Regions from separate parts of the Homo sapiens genome. Here all the other regions are linked to region 6. Evidence: promoter capture Hi-C in 16 types of primary human blood cells and fetal thymus (Javierre and others, 2016). All regions are on one chromosome and are shown on one strand. Each heading gives the region's core, a stretch centred on a gene start or on the middle of the fragment in contact. The rest is flanking DNA. Distances are from core to core; before and after follow the strand shown. Region 1 overlaps NELL2 (neural EGFL like 2). Region 2 overlaps NELL2 (neural EGFL like 2). Region 3 overlaps NELL2 (neural EGFL like 2). Region 4 overlaps NELL2 (neural EGFL like 2). Region 5 has its middle 66 kb from the start of NELL2. Region 6 holds the start of TWF1 (twinfilin actin binding protein 1).

The links. Contacts are between HindIII fragments. The CHiCAGO score rates a contact against its expected background, and 5 or more counts as called.
Region 1: a contact is called between a fragment that was not itself captured here and the fragment with the promoter of TWF1 in region 6, in 1 of 17 cell types (activated CD4 T cells). The highest score is 7.1, in activated CD4 T cells.
Region 2: a fragment that was not itself captured here is called in contact with the fragment with the promoter of TWF1 in region 6 in 1 of 17 cell types (activated CD4 T cells); the score reaches 5.9 in activated CD4 T cells.
Region 3: a contact is called between a fragment that was not itself captured here and the fragment with the promoter of TWF1 in region 6, in 1 of 17 cell types (activated CD4 T cells). The highest score is 8.4, in activated CD4 T cells.
Region 4: a contact is called between a fragment that was not itself captured here and the fragment with the promoter of TWF1 in region 6, in 1 of 17 cell types (activated CD4 T cells). The highest score is 6.1, in activated CD4 T cells.
Region 5: a fragment that was not itself captured here is called in contact with the fragment with the promoter of TWF1 in region 6 in 2 of 17 cell types (erythroblasts and M1 macrophages); the score reaches 5.9 in erythroblasts.

What each region holds. Positions count from the first base shown.
Region 1 is chr12:44,831,225-44,833,924 of GRCh38, forward strand. All of the region lies in intron 2 of NELL2 (neural EGFL like 2), which reads right to left. Among named protein-coding and RNA genes, the nearest start is that of NELL2, 44 kb to the right of the region's middle. The HindIII fragment of the contact is 1,078 bases long and covers 742-1,819 here.
Region 2 is chr12:44,851,201-44,854,109 of GRCh38, forward strand. All of the region lies in intron 2 of NELL2 (neural EGFL like 2), which reads right to left. Among named protein-coding and RNA genes, the nearest start is that of NELL2, 24 kb to the right of the region's middle. The HindIII fragment of the contact is 786 bases long and covers 1,251-2,036 here.
Region 3 is chr12:44,807,217-44,809,916 of GRCh38, forward strand. The region is part of intron 3 of NELL2 (neural EGFL like 2); the gene reads right to left. Among named protein-coding and RNA genes, the nearest start is that of NELL2, 68 kb to the right of the region's middle. The HindIII fragment of the contact is 2,182 bases long and covers 250-2,431 here.
Region 4 is chr12:44,869,049-44,871,993 of GRCh38, forward strand. The region is part of intron 2 of NELL2 (neural EGFL like 2); the gene reads right to left. Among named protein-coding and RNA genes, the nearest start is that of NELL2, 5.8 kb to the right of the region's middle. The HindIII fragment of the contact is 2,514 bases long and covers 261-2,774 here.
Region 5 is chr12:44,940,645-44,943,572 of GRCh38, forward strand. No RefSeq gene overlaps it. Among named protein-coding and RNA genes, the nearest start is that of NELL2, 66 kb to the left of the region's middle. The HindIII fragment of the contact is 488 bases long and covers 1,019-1,506 here.
Region 6 is chr12:43,805,033-43,807,732 of GRCh38, forward strand. TWF1 (twinfilin actin binding protein 1) reads right to left here and starts at 1,285. Exons shown (of 9, transcript NM_002822.5): 1 at 1,189-1,285. The coding sequence starts at 1,213. It also overlaps a transcript of TMEM117 not described here. RefSeq lists a silencer at 981-1,460. The HindIII fragment of the contact is 5,668 bases long and covers 130-2,700 here.

The DNA.
Region 1 (2,700 bases), core at 31-2,530, 1.0 Mb after region 6:
TCTCTAGCGCTAATTTAACCATTCCCAGGAGCCACACATCTGACCCCACCATGCTTGTGTCTTTCCCATTTCACGAACAGATTACTCCCTAAGTGACCATTCCTAGACTAAGTATTGCTTCCAGTTTTCTGCTCACTTTAATGAGTTCAACAAATATATACTGAGTATATAGTAAATATTCAGTATATATTACATAATGATCATGTTGAGAATTCTGCAATGAAGATCAGGAATAATCCAGTACCATGAACTGTTTACCTCTCTGTGGCAGATTGCTAACTGTCCTCCAATAGCAATAACTCTCTTCCTCTTCTAAGTCATAAAACTCTCTACTTTTATCAGGGCACACATGGTTTCCCAGATAGAAACTTCATTCCCCTATATCCTTTTCAGCTAAAGTGAACAGGTGATGTAAATCCTCGCCACTGGGATGTGAGCAGAAGTGACAGGCGTTATGATCCATATTTTATTATTAAAAAGGAACTGATTGTCCCCACTCTTCTTTTCTTTCAGACTGGAATGTCCTCCATGAGGAAAATGGCAGTGTGGAGTTAGAAGACAGACAAAAACTGTGTCCGTGAGTAATTTCAGGTGGCAGGACTGTGCATCAGCCCGGAACCACCTGCCTGCCTCTAGATTGTTATATAAAAAAGAAATAATCTTCTTTCTTATTTGAGCACTGCATTTTGGGTCTCTTTGTTACAGGAACTTAGCCTATTCCCTAAGTAATCCATCTCCCCAAGCTTCCTATGACTCGTTCAAATGTTCCCCGTGGGTCTCATTCTGTAAAATGAGGATAAGAATTTTTTTCTGTATAAAAACAGAGAGTAAAAATTTTAGTCTTTTCAGGCCACATACACCTCTATTCCATATTGCTTTTTTTCTTTTCTACAAGCATTTAAAAATGTAAAAACCAGTCTTAGCTCAAGGGGCCATATAAGAATGAGCCCCAAAATTGGCCTTTGGGGCCACAGTTTTAACCAACCCCTGGAATCAACAGATATGGATATAATTTCCCAAAGATAAAAAGAAATTCTTTATGTCTTTAGTTGATTATGTCTAGAATGGAAGACCAAAACAATGTGATAAGAGGCTTAGTTAAAGCAAGTACTAGATGTCATGAAAGTGGAAAAGACAGGAAGTGAAAATGCCTATTAACTAGTTTTCATCACTGGTGTTGATATGCATATTTTGGTGTGCATCCTTTCTTCTCTCATTGTGTGATATGCTTTCCAGGTGTAGGGATCAATTCTGTAATTCTCCTTTTTAGCACAGTGATCTGCATGCAGAAAACAATCAATAAGTATAGCTGACCGTCTTGTTCATTCATGACTTTGCCACCTACTTCCACGCCTTTTCATAACAAAGAGCATATTGTCTGCCCAAGTAACTAAGTAAAAGTTACAGATTCGTTTTGTCCTCAACATTTCTTGGCATTGCCACCTATTTTAATATTATGATTTAAAGGTAGAGTAGATAACAACCACAATGAACAAAACTAGAACACATACAAAAACATTTAAAATAGTGCTTTATATTGTTACATATTAAGACCAAAAGACTCTCCTTTCCCTTTGGAAATTATGAACTGGCAGGTCTGCATGAGGACTGTAGCTCTATGAAAAGAACTTAGTCCTTTCTAGCATTCTAAGATTAACATCTCCCTAGAAAAAGGAATAACGGAGGACCTAAATTTCTGACAGGTACAATGGTAATAGTGTGGTTTGAGTATTTTCTTAGCAATGTTATAAATTTCTAGATTATCAGAGAAAATAATTACTAACTGAATGCCCAGAAACACCTTCCAGAGCTAAATGTAAGCTTCACACTTACTTTTTCCCAATTCCACCACCAGTTTTGGGGGTAGTTGTGAGTTGGCCTACACAGAACGTTCAGAACACTTAACAAATAAATGTTTTGCTTTTTGTTTTCTTTTGTTGTATAACATTCCTTTTTTAAAATTCAAGCAAAACCTGGGTGTTCTACAAAGTGGTCTATAGAAAATTTCTTCACTATATTTTATGCTTTAAAACAGAGGAGAACTGGGCATCAAAATCATACAGGAATTATACTGCAATAAAAATTTGACATCTCATATCCCATCTTCTTGACAGTTCTCTCCCTTTCATGATAGTCCACAGCTCTGATAGCTTTACTACACATTTTCATTATTTTTCAGTGTACTACTTTGTGCTGCCTTATAGTTTTCTCTGTTTCTTGCCTAATTGCTTTATATGCCAGTCTTACATCCTCAGAAAGACTGATTTTAATCTCCTTAAGGACAAAACTGTGTACTATACCTCTCTTCTACCCCAATAACTACCAGCAATTATAGCCCAAGACAGAGAGAAGGGTTCAATAAAAATTTGTTGAATGAAATTCAATGAATTTTCTTTTCCAAGGCTTGGAAGACAAAACAATGTGCCTATCTTGCTGTGTAAGAATAAGTTACTCCCCTTCCCTCCTAATTCTCCACTGAAGCAAGGTTTACAACCTTGGACTCGCGGTACAGCTCTAGGTAATACCTGATAATCTCACACACAGACACAATTTATGCTGTACAAAGGTTTATGGGAGGTCCTGGGAGGCACAGTCCATACTAATTACCAGGTCGGTCCAACTATCTCATTAGTCCAGGCTAGGAAAGTTGTTAGGATTTAAAATCCTATTGAAACGAAAGTATCGGAGTGGAGTTTAAAA
Region 2 (2,909 bases), core at 394-2,893, 1.0 Mb after region 6:
ACTATACTGGAAACCGTAATGACATCTGCTTGGGTTAGTCTTCCAAACTCACCCACCCACTGCCACCCCCTACCATAAATCAAGAGGAATAATGAATTCATATCTATAAATAAATATTAATGGTTAAACTTCAGGAAGAATTTGCTACAGAATTTAACAGTCATTTCTATGCATTTCCTTTCAGAATAATGAAATATTAAATGTTCTAAAACCTCAGACAAGCCAAAATTTGGACTCTTTGTTTATGATTGCATGCCAATAACAAAATATGCACAAATAAAAAATAGAATGATATAAATGAAGTCAAGTATGATCTTGTTTCAATCCTTTTTAGCATCTTGCTTATGACTTTGCTGTCATTTTTACTACCAGTAATTTTTTTAATTTACAGCTATAGCTAAAGATAGAATTAAACTACAGCTCTAAACATAAGAGTGCTTTCAAAACCAAAATGCAAAAAATGCTTCACCAGTCTATCTGGAGGAGGGAATAGTAGCCAACTAACATTTATAAACCCCATTCCTCCTACAGAGGGATGATGTGCCATGTGCGAAATGGCCTATTTCAGTTTCCAAGGTTGGCAACAATCTGTACCAGCGAGACCAAGTTCCAGAGCCAGCAGTGCCCAGGTCTTTTCACGCATCACATACTGACAGCTGAATCTGTTTTGTGGAGTCTTATGCCATATCTTGTTCTTGCTCAAAACCTACAATGCCATAAGAACAGATTTTGCCCTTCAAAAGCATTTGATCTTTTATTTTTAAGTACATTTGGTTCTAACTTCTCTAATTAAAAGCAAGTATCTCTGCAAAAAAAACACAAAAATAACATTTATTTCACCTTCTATTGTTCCCTCTTGTATTTTTACAGGTTTATTTTGAATGAGTTCTCTCCATTTAATCCACTAAAATATAAATGCATTCACCGTCAATATCAACAGTGGATTTGATTTACTCTTTTTCTTTGAATGAAGAGCCTATTGCCTGAAATTCCGTATCTCAATTTAATTATCTAAAGAATGTATTTCTACAGATTCATATCTTAACATACACTGCTGGAAAAAAACGTTAACAAATTAGATTTTCCTTACCTACTTCTTCTATCAAGACAGTGTGGAAGAGAAAATTAATCCTTTCCTACAATATTTTCCAGTAGCACATATTTGTCATGTTGTTATATAACTTTAGAAAGTCTAAAATGAGGTAGCTCAGCATTTGCACCTCTATTCTGTGTTTTTCCCCTGAGAGAAAAGCTTTGTTACACACAGATGGGAACAGTTTAAACATTCCCTCTCTTTTCTTCATGAGACAGCTAAGATAGTGTTCATTTAAAACCCATTTTTGCTTTTCAGATGCCTGTGTAATTAACATCAGTCCTGAAAAGTTTTAGAAATAAGCCTGCAAGTTTCCACAAGCTAACTGGCATTTTCCCAACTTCACCCTCTGACTTTACTAATTTGCTGACCAAAATAACAAAAAGTAATCATCCATTAAATAGGTGGGTTCTCCCCACTCGACAGTTTCCTGCCTGGTCAATGATTCAGAGTGAATGCTCATTTTTTTCCATTAGTCTTTGAAACGTGTTCTAATTTGAAAGTATGTTATCAAAGAACAATTTAAATTGCACAATTTTCCTGGAAATGCAACCCAATTATTAAAAATTGAACCCACAGCAGCAAAGGGATGAAAATGTACTATGAGATGCTTTATTGTAGAGGCACCTATGATAAGGATAATGAAATTTTTGTAGCAACTTTTAAAAAATTGACCTCTACATCAGAGGCTTAGTGTCTTCAAGGTGAGTGGCAATAAATATACATTTACTCTGCCTTCTTTTCTTTCCCTTTAGAGGCCTCATTTCTTGTGAATTCCCATGCTCCAAATCAAGTTCTTATCCAATCAAGTTCTTATATCCACTGCATTTCAACTTCAAATATGTCTTCATTTTAACCCATAACATAATAGTCTTATAAAAATGTATAACTTAAAAGTGTCTCATATCTTCAGGATTATGGTTTATCATAGAAATTAATAATAAGCTTCAGAAAGATTTCAGTGAAGACAATCCAGATTTGAGTTAGGAATTTTAAAAGTCCAATTTCTGACCTTTGGATTTTAAGTTTAAGGAAATTGGTAAAGTTGTTTCTACGCATTTTCCTTCAAAATAATAGTGAAACATTAAGTGTATTAAGATCCCAGGCAAACCCAAGTCTGAATTCTTTAGAGTCAAATTTGGACTGAACAATTCCTCCTTTGAGACATTTTAAACATTTCTCCCCTTTATTTGGGATATGATATTTCTTCTCCTAGAGTGAAAAAATCCCTCTTTTCATTTGAAAGGCAAAAACATAAAGCCTAGAGTCATAGTGCTTTCCTGAGTTGGTTGAATTAAACGATCTATTAGGTATCCTACATAAAAATTCAATCTGAACATCAGGGAATAGAAAGTATTAACAAAAGCAGTAACACTAATACTTACATTACAACAGAACTTATGAAAATCAGTCTCAGAAGGAAAAACAAACATATGAATGATAGTGTCATAAAATAAGCTGCCTCTCTGGAGTACTCATATACTTTAAATAAATCTATTTTTATAGTATAATTAGCAATCTGATGACATGTGAGAAGAATACATCAGTGAAGGACATGTCCTCCTCCAAACAAAGTCAACAGGCTCTCAGAAAACATCCAGGTTCAACGTTCAGTTACTAGGAGCATTGCATCTCATTGGTAGCCTAAAGGAAACATTTTTATATGCCTTTCTTAACAATCCATCAGTCTCCAGGAAGAACTCTGCTCAGTTACAAGTATGTGTCAACAAACGCAATTCATAGTAAAGATATCCAGCTACTAATTACCACTGGAAATTTAAATAAGTTCTAAAAATATAGGTTACGTTCTGCTCTG
Region 3 (2,700 bases), core at 91-2,590, 1.0 Mb after region 6:
CTAATGTCACTGCATTTAATTATAAGGCATCATTTACAAGAAAAAATACAAAATATTCCTGTCTAAAACATTATATTTAATAGGAATTTATACATTTGATGGATTTTGCTCTTTACACACACACACACACACACACACACGCATGCATGCAGAAAGAATTCTGGACCAATGACTCAAAAAAAAATATCCGTTCATTAACGACATCTCTATGAAACATGGTATTAGATAGTAAATCATCGAGATATGATAAGCTTCTGTCTTAAAGAAAATCAGGAAGAGCTATAGACTCCTAAAATTTAGACGTCAATGTTTTAAAAAATGGCAAAAGGGAAAATAATAAAGTCACAAATTTTTAGCAAAGCCAAAACAAGAAAGAACTAAAATTATAATCTCAAAAGTTTTTATTCCCAAGTGAAGAAAAGGTTAAAAAAGTTTTTAATCATTAGAAATATTTTTTAATGCTGAAAAGAAAAAAATAACTTTAAAAAAGTAGCAGACTGATCATTAAAAGTTACATGGGCCAATTATTTCCAATGAACAATTCACCTTTCCTGCCATTTATAAAGAAATGATATGGCAACACAGAAACGGGAAGTATGAGAAATTGCAAGCAGGAGCACCAAGTTGGTTTCCAAAACACAGTTTGCTTGCTCCTTAATGACAGTTGCTTACACAAAAACCAAAATTCCAGTACTCTGTCCATAGGGAGCGAAGAGAGTAGATGTGAAGGAGCTACAAGATGGATGACACAGAAGGGTCTTGCAATGGCCTAAGATATTTAGGGCCTGATAACTGGATATGGTCAGAATAGGATGGTTGCCTGGAAATATTCTTGGTCCTCTGCATCCCCATCTAGGAGGAAAATACCCAAAATGTGTAATGAAAGTGAATATGGGCTGGTTAGTCTATGGGCTGCGGCAGCAGCAGTCAACTGATTCATTCTTTGACCCTGCAGAAAGAGTGGACTGCTGACAGGAAGGGAAAAAAAATGCCTCGCTTCTTTAGTGTGAAACGGGGGATGTGTGCTCTATGGGATAACCTCTGTGTGTTAAAATGTGTATTTCTGTCCATCACATCACCTATATAAAAATTATGATGAGAAATTCCATTTGCTTGTTTTAATTTACTTTCTTTGATGAGCACCTGACCATGCCTACTTGGTAGTGATATATGTATGCTTGGCTACATTAGAATATATATTGTAACTTTCCTAATAATAAGGGAGGTATTAAAATACACAACAGAGATGTAATTTTGTGAGAGATAAATAATGATATAGAAACACTTCAAGAAAATAAAATCTAAGTAAAGTTTTTTAATTATGTAGAAATTGGAGTTTGAAATTTTAATTTATAAATCCTATTATCTTTAAAGTTATTTATTAAATAAAGTGCAAGCAGAAAGTAATGAGTTTAGTAGCTTTTATGTCAGTCTATTAATTTCTTCCATAATAAACAAAGTCATTTTTTAGTTCAGAACCATTAAGCCAAGCAAATATTGCCAGCAAGTTTAATTTTTACTTACTAATGTCAAGAAAGAAAAATGGCTTAATACATGACAAGCACTCACAAACATGAAGACACATTTTTTCAGCCTCATACATAAATACATTTTTACTCACCCAGAATGTATAATTAATATTAAGAGGATAGAAAAATCTCATTTATTTCACCTGAAGTTTATTAATACAGAAGATGATGACAAACTACAGGACAGTTTAATATTTATTTGCAAAGCTATTGCCACAAATTATCTCCATGTATGCTATCTGCAAAGCATTCAAAGTCAGAAGCATAAATAATGCCTGGATATCAGCAAAATTCCTAATAAACCCCTTGGAACAAATTTGTATATCTAAAGTCCAAGATTATTTTAAATAAAGAAGAAATATTATAAACCACAGAACAGAATCTAGGCAACTACACCAAATCACATGAAGGATAACATAAGGATTTTATTTATCCTGAAGAAACTGCAGTTTTGTAAAACATGGAAGAAGGAAACAGTTTCTTTGGAATTTTCAATAAATTTCTTTTATTTTTACTGATAAATATACTTTTGCTTTTCAACAATCCTTTATATTTTTCATATTTCTCTTCTGTTTCCTGTATAAATGGATAAATGAATCAATATGTTAAAAATATTTCTCTATTCTCTATTTACCTTTCGAAACACAATAGTCAGAAAACTATAATAATGAGAGAACTCCTTTAATCAGCCTGAGTGTCTTAACTCTTTCCAACAACTGCCATATATTACTGTCTGGTTTTTTTTAGGTTATGCTGCTGATGGTGAACATACTGAAATGACTGAAGAGCCAAAACTCTTTTTACACTGTGCTCACATGAAGTTTGTGGCTTAATTTTTAATATCAGCCTCTATTTAAGGAACACCATTTGAAACCAGCATCTCAGGTTGGGAGGCCAAATGAAGCTTTGTTCATGGCACACCAGGGCACTGCTGATGGAGTTCCCGGGAGTTTCATAATTATGCCACTTGGTTTGAAGCTATGTTTCAGTGCCAAGGTTTGACTGAAGCCCTCTTCTTAATTCTGCAACAGTGTGATCATCTGCCCTTCCTACTTTCTTCTTGCTTTTAGTTCACTTCAGATACCCTAGAATCCAGAGCATGCCCATTAATCCATATGTCCAAACCAAAAAAATTGTGTGATTAGATATCCAGCATTAACACCGTGGCTGA
Region 4 (2,945 bases), core at 268-2,767, 1.1 Mb after region 6:
ACAAAAGTCTCAAATCTCATCATCCAAATCATCTAAAACAGGTATGAGAAAGGCGCTGCATATAATCCATTCTGAGGCACACCTTGAAACATAGTATCTGCTCTCAAAAACACAATGGTAAGGCAGATAAAGATGATAGTTCTAAATATTCTCATTCAAAAAGGGAGAAAATGGAAGAAAGAAAAAAAAACAATTGCCATATCCAAGCAACTTTAAAATCCAGCCAGGCAAACACCACTTGGTTTCAAGGTCTAGAAATAAGCTTCTGTAATTATTGGTTCCACCCTCTGGAGTCAGCTCCATGCTCTGGGCTCTGAGTTCTGCCCTTTGAATTAACCTTCTTTTTTCATGAAAGGTAGCTTCATAGAAAGATGTTGACAGCCAAGTCAGCCTGTTTTTTGCTTGTAGAATTTTGGGGATCCAACACCTTCTTTCATTTTATTCTCTCACTGATTCTTTCAGGCCACACCAGCAGCAATTTTACTGCCATAATATTCTTAAGAACCTTGTAGATCTCCCATGTATGTCATGGGGATTCACTCCATTAAACAAAAAAGGCTCCTCCATAGATATTTCTTGGATAATTCCATCTCTATTTGTGACCTCTGCTGAAATGGTTGAGGGGATCTATGAGTCATATGTTCTTCAAAGAGCCCTCAATGTAACTGAATACTCTGACCTTTTGATATTTCTGAGGCACTAGCAAAATATTTTCTAGTCACATCCTTGGCTTTCTTTTCAGACTAGGTATTCCTAACAGTGAATATCCTATTTTAACATGTTTTGGAATCTGAATAGGTTGATAATTTCTCAAATATCAAGTTATGAATATGTTTTGCTCAACAATTATTCCCTAAATCTCTCTCTCTCCTCTCACGTTACTACAAACAGCAAGAAAAAGCCAGAGTGCACCTTCAACACTTTTGTTGCTTACAAATCACCTTAGCTAAAATCTAAGTTCATTGTTTACAAGTTTTGCTTTCCACATAACCACAGGGTACAATTCAGCTAAGTTTTCTGCCACTGTGTAAGAAGGGTCCCCTTTCCTTCAGTTTATAATAAAAATTCTTTATATCCATCTGAGCCCTCAATGGCAGTTCCTTCAATGTCTATACCTAACCAATGCTCGCTTATGATAATTTAGGAATATTCAGAGGTGATTTAGATTTTCTCTCTACCATGCTCTTCACTTTCTTCTAAGTCCTCAATAATAGAGTCACCAATAACCATATTTCTACTGAAAGTCTATTTAAGGCAATCTAGGCTTTTTCTATCATGCTCCTAAAAATTCATCCAGCATCTGCCCATTGCCCAGTTCCAAAGCCACTTCCATATTTTTTAGGTATTTCTTACACCAGCACCACACTTCCATGCAGGAAAATTTGTATTCGTTTCCTATTGCTGCTCAAACAAATCACCACAAACTTAGTGACTTAAATCAACACAAATCTATTATCTCACAGTTCTGGAGATCAGAAGTCCAAAATGAGTCTCATTGGTCTAAAATCAAGGTATCAGTAGCACTACATTCCTTCTGGAGGCTGTAAGAGAAAACTCATTTTCTTGCCTTTTTCAGCATCTAAAAACTGCCTGCAGTCCTTGGCTTGTGGCCCACTATCACCTTTAAAGCCACCAGTGGCCAGACTAGTTTTTCTCATATCACATCACTCTACACTGACTATTCTGCTTCCTTCTCCCCATTTCAAAAGATTCTTCTGATTACACAGGGCTCACCCAGATAACCTATGATAGCCTCCTAATCTTAAAGTCAGCTGATGAGCAAACTTAACTTCCCCTTGCTGTATAACGTAACCTATTGTTTGGTTCCAAGAATTAAGACATGAACATCTATGCAGGACCATTATTCTGCCCACCATAATATATATTTCCATAATGATAAATTTTCAATTCTGCTCTATTAGTATAGCCTACCATGTAACCTGGTTCCTGCTTTCCTCATATACTTTATTTCATATCACATGCCCTATGTTTCTACTTCTCTAGACTTCCTCCACGTTCTCAAATGCACATTCATCCCATGCTCAGAACCTTGCTCACACACTAGTCCCTTTGCCTATCCCCATAGCTTCTCTTCTTTGGACTACTCTTACATATCCTTCAACTATCAGCTTAAATGACTATTCTTCAAAGATGGTTTCCCTGAGCCTGAGACTCCCCTAACTAAAATATAGATTCCCATTATATCTTCAGTTTTTCTTCATATAATTTATCTTAATGGTGATTAGGTCTGTAACTATGTAATTGTTCAACGGCTATTTTTAAGACACTATGAAATCAAAGTTAAGTTCTAACGTCTTCATTTGTTATGTGCCTAACACCTAGCAGTATGCTAGTTTCCCAAAAATAACTTATTTGAAAGAATGAAAGTAACTCGCTTAATTGTCATAACAATGATCATTTTATAATTGAGGGTACTGGAGCTTAGAGAAATTAAGTAACTTCACCACAGTAAAACAACTAATGAAATTCCACCTCAGTCTATCTTGTTTCTAAGTGCATCTCTTAAACACTGTGTTATTCCACACTATTTGGGCACCAACAGCCATCACTTCAAAGTCCACAGATGCTCACCAACCATCATACTGAAGACAAATTAGTGCCACCTCGATTTCCTCAATGCAGTTACCTTTGCCTACTAAAGTCCATGGTCTATTACCAAATGCCTATTTCACTCTGCGTAACACTGGCATAAGAGGAGACGTACGACCTTTTTTTCCCTTTAAAACCTTAAAGTTTTTTACAAATAACTACTAAGCTTATTTTCAACTTAACAACTTGTAAAAAAAACATGCTTTGATTTTATCCACTTCTCTTCTATGGATTAATGAGATTATAAAATCTGTTAACACTTCAGAAGAAATTGTATTAAACCAACAGAGGAAATTATCTACTTTGGGAACCTGGCCAGATTAATTGTTAAAATC
Region 5 (2,928 bases), core at 13-2,512, 1.1 Mb after region 6:
ATTCTCTCCTCTTTGCTTCTGACCTCTCAACTTGCTTGTTTGTTTGTTTGTTTGTCTTTTGAGACAGGGCCTTACTCTGTTGCCCAGGCTGGAGTGCAATGGTGCGATTTTGGCTCGCCGCAAACTCCGCCTCCCAGGTTCAAGTGATTCTCCTGCTTCAGCCTCCCGAGTAGCTGTGATTACAGGCACGCACCACCACGCCTGGCTATTTTTTGTATTTTTAGTAGAGACAGGCTTTCACCATGTTGGCCAGGCTGTTGTCGAACTCCTGACCTCAAGTGATCCCCCTGCCTCGACCTCCCAAAGTGCTGGGATTACAGGTATGAGTCACCATGCTCGGCCCTCTCTCAACCGTTAGCTCCCACTCACACCCCTCCCTTGACTTTATTTTTTACCTAAAACATTAACACTTGATTGTGGAATAGTTAGTAGCAAACACAGAGAGAGAATTTGTTATAAGTCATTTCTTAACAAAGAACCATTTGAAATCCAATTTCTGTTATGACTTTTACTTTTTTTGGACATCTTCAGGCATTTACCTCAAAATATTATCAAAGTGTTTGGCTGCAAAAAGAAACAAAAATACCAACTTTTAAACAACAAATGGATGTAAAGCTCTCTAAAGAAATCAATGTTAAATAAAAAGTTCAAAATGTCCTATACTTGCTGTGTGCTTAAATGCTGAAAAAGGAAATGTATGCCAGGAAAAAACTATTTCATATGATTGTGCCATATGTATACAGATCAAGAATCTAATTCACAGCAACTCTATTTTTAGGTGAGGACCAACAGTTTTATAAACTGGTTTGGAAAGAAGAAATGTTTCAGCAGTCACTAGATAAGAGGAAAAAGCTTGATGTGAAATAATTCTTTTAGTTCTCTGTAGGGTCAAGGATTCAAGTATCACATACAAAATGCGATGCTGAAATGGGGGAAGTCACTATAACATACTGCAAGTCTCTCTAATTTAAAATGCCATTCAGACTTGTACTCATGGAATACAAAGTGCTTCTTATAAAGCTTGTATTACAATCTATTTCTTAGCTCCTACTTTGGATTAAACAAGATAGTTACACAAAAGATCCAGGAGTAGTATCTGACACTTAACGGTTTCCTTTTCCTTTTCCTTTGGAGGTAAGAGGAATGTGAGCATGTTTCTAATTTCCAAGGAAAAATTATTAAATATCTTTGAATCTTGGTTTCTTCCTGTGAAGGATGATAAAACCACTTCATCAAGTCATTGTAAGGGATAAAAGTTATAGCCGATATAAATAGTTAATTGTATGTAGTTGCTCAAAATAAAGTAGCTATCATTATTAGCACTATATTTTTAGAGTGGTTTAGTATAAACTGCATATCCAAACTTCTAACCTTTACAATATTCACCAAAACTCAAATCTAAATAGACAAAGTATGCTCAAATCATGATGTTATATAGAAAAACCTCTAAGGTGGTTAAGCGACTTTATTATGGTATTTTAATATCATGAGTTTTCTCAAAGTGTAAGCTTTGAAATTTTAATAATAAAACATAATGATCCATCTATATTCCAGTTTGTTCTTCATCAAAAATGGGTTTCCAAGAAGAAAATCTAATTGTACCAATGCAAAAATCCTAGTAATGACTGGCTGAAAATCTGAGCAGCTCTGAGGTAATTAAGTTGAAAATGCCAAGGAAAATTGTATTTTTGTGGTTGTTATTTTATTACCCTTTCCAGCAATTTTCCACTTGAATACCTTTTAAATGTATAATTTAGCCGCACTTTATTCTTTACTGTATATCAATATGGGAGGCAAATAACTTAACAGAAGACCTGGAACCACCAAGAATTCTGGTTCTAGTTCTTGTATTGATTTAGCTCTTGATTTTCCATATTTAAATTAGGATAATAACCTGACCAGTTTCAGAACCATGTTGTCATGACCTCTTCTTCTTTTTCTTTGAGTCTCTCCATCTCCTTTCCACCACTGCCAGTCCCCAAAATACTGTGGAACTGAATTTATCATAAGTGAATTGCTTGCATTAAATTATCTGATATAAAGTAGTATTTGGCATAAAAATGATCATAAATGTTTTCCCCCTTCTTATAAATAATGCTTTTTCCCTTTTTCTCAACAGTTCTAATTGCCTCTTATTAAACCTATGAAATTAACTTCTCCTGATTTTAGTAATTCCAGTCATTTCAGCAAACCCAAGAGAGCCAAGGACTGAGCTCTGGAACATTCTGTTACTTAAAAGTCAATATTTAAAGATTCAAAGGTGAATCCCATCAAGGTGGAAGCCTGATTCGATTTGTCATGAGGATATGGGCTGAGACCGTGGAGACATTAAGGTTGGCTGTAAAGGGTGGTCAATAAATCGGTAGCTATAGGGGACATAAAAGCGAACGAGGGTTCTATTCTCCCTTGATCAATATTACAGCACATTACAGCAGGGAGAAGAGAGATATAGTGATTATGCAAGACAGAACAGAGATAATTATGTCAGCAAATTCTTGAGAAGGTGAAAAGAGATGGAATCCAGTGCACAAGTAAAGGGATTGTTTTTAACATGGGGACAGAGACCCTTCCTCTGTAATAGAAATATTCAGATGTGAGAGACTAGGTGGTGGGAAAATATCATTATCTTCTGATTGCTTCTGTTTGCTCAGCAAGATAAGAAGCAAAGTCATCAGCAGAGAGTGAAGAACAAGGAATACAAGTTGGAAATTTGATAAGAAAAAGTGTAACATAGTAACCTCAGACAGGGAAAAAATAATTCAGTGAGAAAATGGAAACTGTGGTTGACAACTGCAGAGAGGCACTAAGGGCCCACTTGAGACACAGTCATGAAAATTAAGAGAGATCCCTCAGCTAAGTTAGATGTTCCTCTCCAACCATGAACTGCAAGCTTGGTAAACATTTATTAAATGTTTATTAAGTGCCAAG
Region 6 (2,700 bases), core at 35-2,534:
AAGAAAAAGACAATAAAATGCATTCAGTCTTAACTCTGGTTATATTTTTCTAACTTGCATTTCTCAAAAGCTAGATTAAACTCATTGAATAAATATGTATTTAATAACTAACCCTTGTGTTCCTATTAAAGCTTCAATTTCGTTCTAATTTCGTTCCTGTGTTGTCTATTAGCAGCAAGAACCACTATGTAAGTAGGTAGTGCTTGCTATAAGGCTCAAGCATGAGAGTCAATAACTACATATTTATATATCGAAATTAATGCGGATAAATAAAACAAAGTTTTCAGATTTGAGACTATTTTGCTTCTGCGTGCGTGCAGGGGGATGTGTGCGGTGGTGTCAAAAATCTTTACGAATAAAACATACAATTAAGTGTTCATCTGGGAGAAAGACTCGCTATTAACAGTAAGAGCTTGAGTTTACACTAGAACTCGTTAAGTGATCGCGAGTAACCCGGGGATATATTATTTGACTCTTGATGAGGTGAGTACCTGCAGGCTGCCCAATTTCAAACCAGGAAATAATGGAGGTCAGATATAACTGCATATTGAACTGTCTGCACGCATTACATGCAACCATACAGATCAGTTTCCCTTGGGGAGTATCTAGGAAAAAGATCAAAACACACGCTTACACTCGAGATTTCTCAGAACATAACTCTCATTTTCCTATTTGGAGAGAAAATGCGGGAGAGTTTTGGGAAGCACCCCTACTGATGTGAGAAAGATTCTGGCATGGTTCTTTTTGTAATCAAAGTCCTGTAATATTCTCCTTTGGACCATGAAAAAGAAAACTCGCCTGGTTCTCGACAGCGTACTGAAGCCCCAGTCGCCTCCACTGTCCCAGCTCTTCCCTACGTGACCAAAAGGGGGAAAGTTGGGCGACTGTCGGGGACGGTGGAAGGCACGCCCCCTTCAACCAGGCCGCCTCGAAAGCCAATTTCCTTCGCTCCCCCGAATTTCGGATCAATCTGCAACGTGACGGCAGCAGGGACCGGGCTGGAGGAGGACGCAGGCCGGCAGCGCCCGGGAAGCAGGAGCGCGGAGAGGCGCCGAGGCCCGGCTCGCCCCGCGAGACCGACTTCCGGAGCTCCCGGCCCGACTCCAGCCCTGCCGGTCCTGCAGCCCTCCCGGCTCTCCCGGCTCTCCCGGAAGCCCCTTCCCTGCGAGTCGCGCCGGGCGCTGTTACCTTGGATGCCGGTCTGGTGGGACATGGCGGCGGCCGCTAGCTCCCGGCTCCGGCGCTGAGTGCAGCCAGCGGCCCCGGCCGGCGGCCCCAGGAAGTGGCTGCTCCTCCGCCGGCCCCGGCGCGTCATCCGCCCGCGACCCGCGGCCGCCCCGCCCCGTGAGGTTGACTGAGTGCCCGAGCGTCCCCGCCGCCCCGCCGCCCTTCCTGGCCGCCGGGCTGCGGTCCAGCCCCCGGCCTCGCTATCCTAGTTCTCTGCTTGGGGTCCTGCTTCTGCTCTTGCCGCCGCCTCTCCCGCTTCTTCCGGGGGGGACATGCCGCAGAATCTAGACTGCTCAGTGCTCCGACGTCTGCTCTCTGACAACCCCGCCGACGCCGCCATTCGCTGCCTCAGCAAAGGGGTGCTCAAAAACGGAAGTGATCATTTTACCAAATAGGCATTTTCCAGCTTAAAAAAGATGTGCACATTATTTTTCTTGGTTTACTCTTCCTATAATCGATACCGTTTAGTGTAGAAAAGCCTTCTCCTTGCTCCATTGTTTTGAAAGAATTAATATAGACTGCCTCTCATCAAATTTTTCCACGATTTTAAATTAAGTTAATCTCAGACTGTTAACTTTTCTTTTCAGCTGGACACATTTAGAGACTCAGTGTATCTTTCTCTTCACTCCGGAAAGAGACAGCCACTAAGAGATTAGCTGATTTGAGTATCCCTCTGTGGTCGATTATACCATTGCAAATCCTGCTCTGCTTTAGGTTGGCAGTTTATTATTTAATCCAGTAATTATTCAAAATTCACTTGGACAGATTTGTAAGGTAGCAGCAGATATTACTTAAAAATCTTTTCCTTTCCTGCTTTTACAAACATGTAGTTCCTTCCTGAAAGGTAATGTTAGTTTTGTGGGGGGTTTGGTTTTTTTTTGGTACTGCTTCTCTACTGCTACTAGGTGGGAAGCTAGTTCTTATTTTTAGGGCCTTGAAGTGACACATACACAAAATTATAATCTGCTAATGAAGAAATAATTTATTCAGGTCAATAATATAAGTGCAAGTTAATCACTGTTCCAGTACTATACGATGTATTTTTCATGAGTGATGAACAGGCCTGCAATTGTTTTTCTTTACAAGAATCACAGCAAACAAGGTTATGTTCTATTGCCTGTTATCTGAGCTCTGTTTTTCAGACATATTCTCATATTCAGGAATAAACTAAATCTGAGTTTTATGACTTGTATGGATTTAAGAAATGTAGGGAGGAGTTTCATTCTAATCAAATTCTTCCTGACACAATGGTTCACCCTGATTTACCAGTTTTTGACTACATTGCTGAGCAGAGAGAAAATTGCAGAGTTGACTTGCAGTATTTTGACTGATTCATGTCCTAGTGCTTCGGGGAAATTGCTTAAGGAAGTTGGCGTTGCTCAAAAGTATAGTTGAGCAAAATATAATCCTTCCATATTCGTGCTTGGGAAAGGCCACTGTATTCTCAGTCCTGAAGAAGAGGAATGTCTAGTT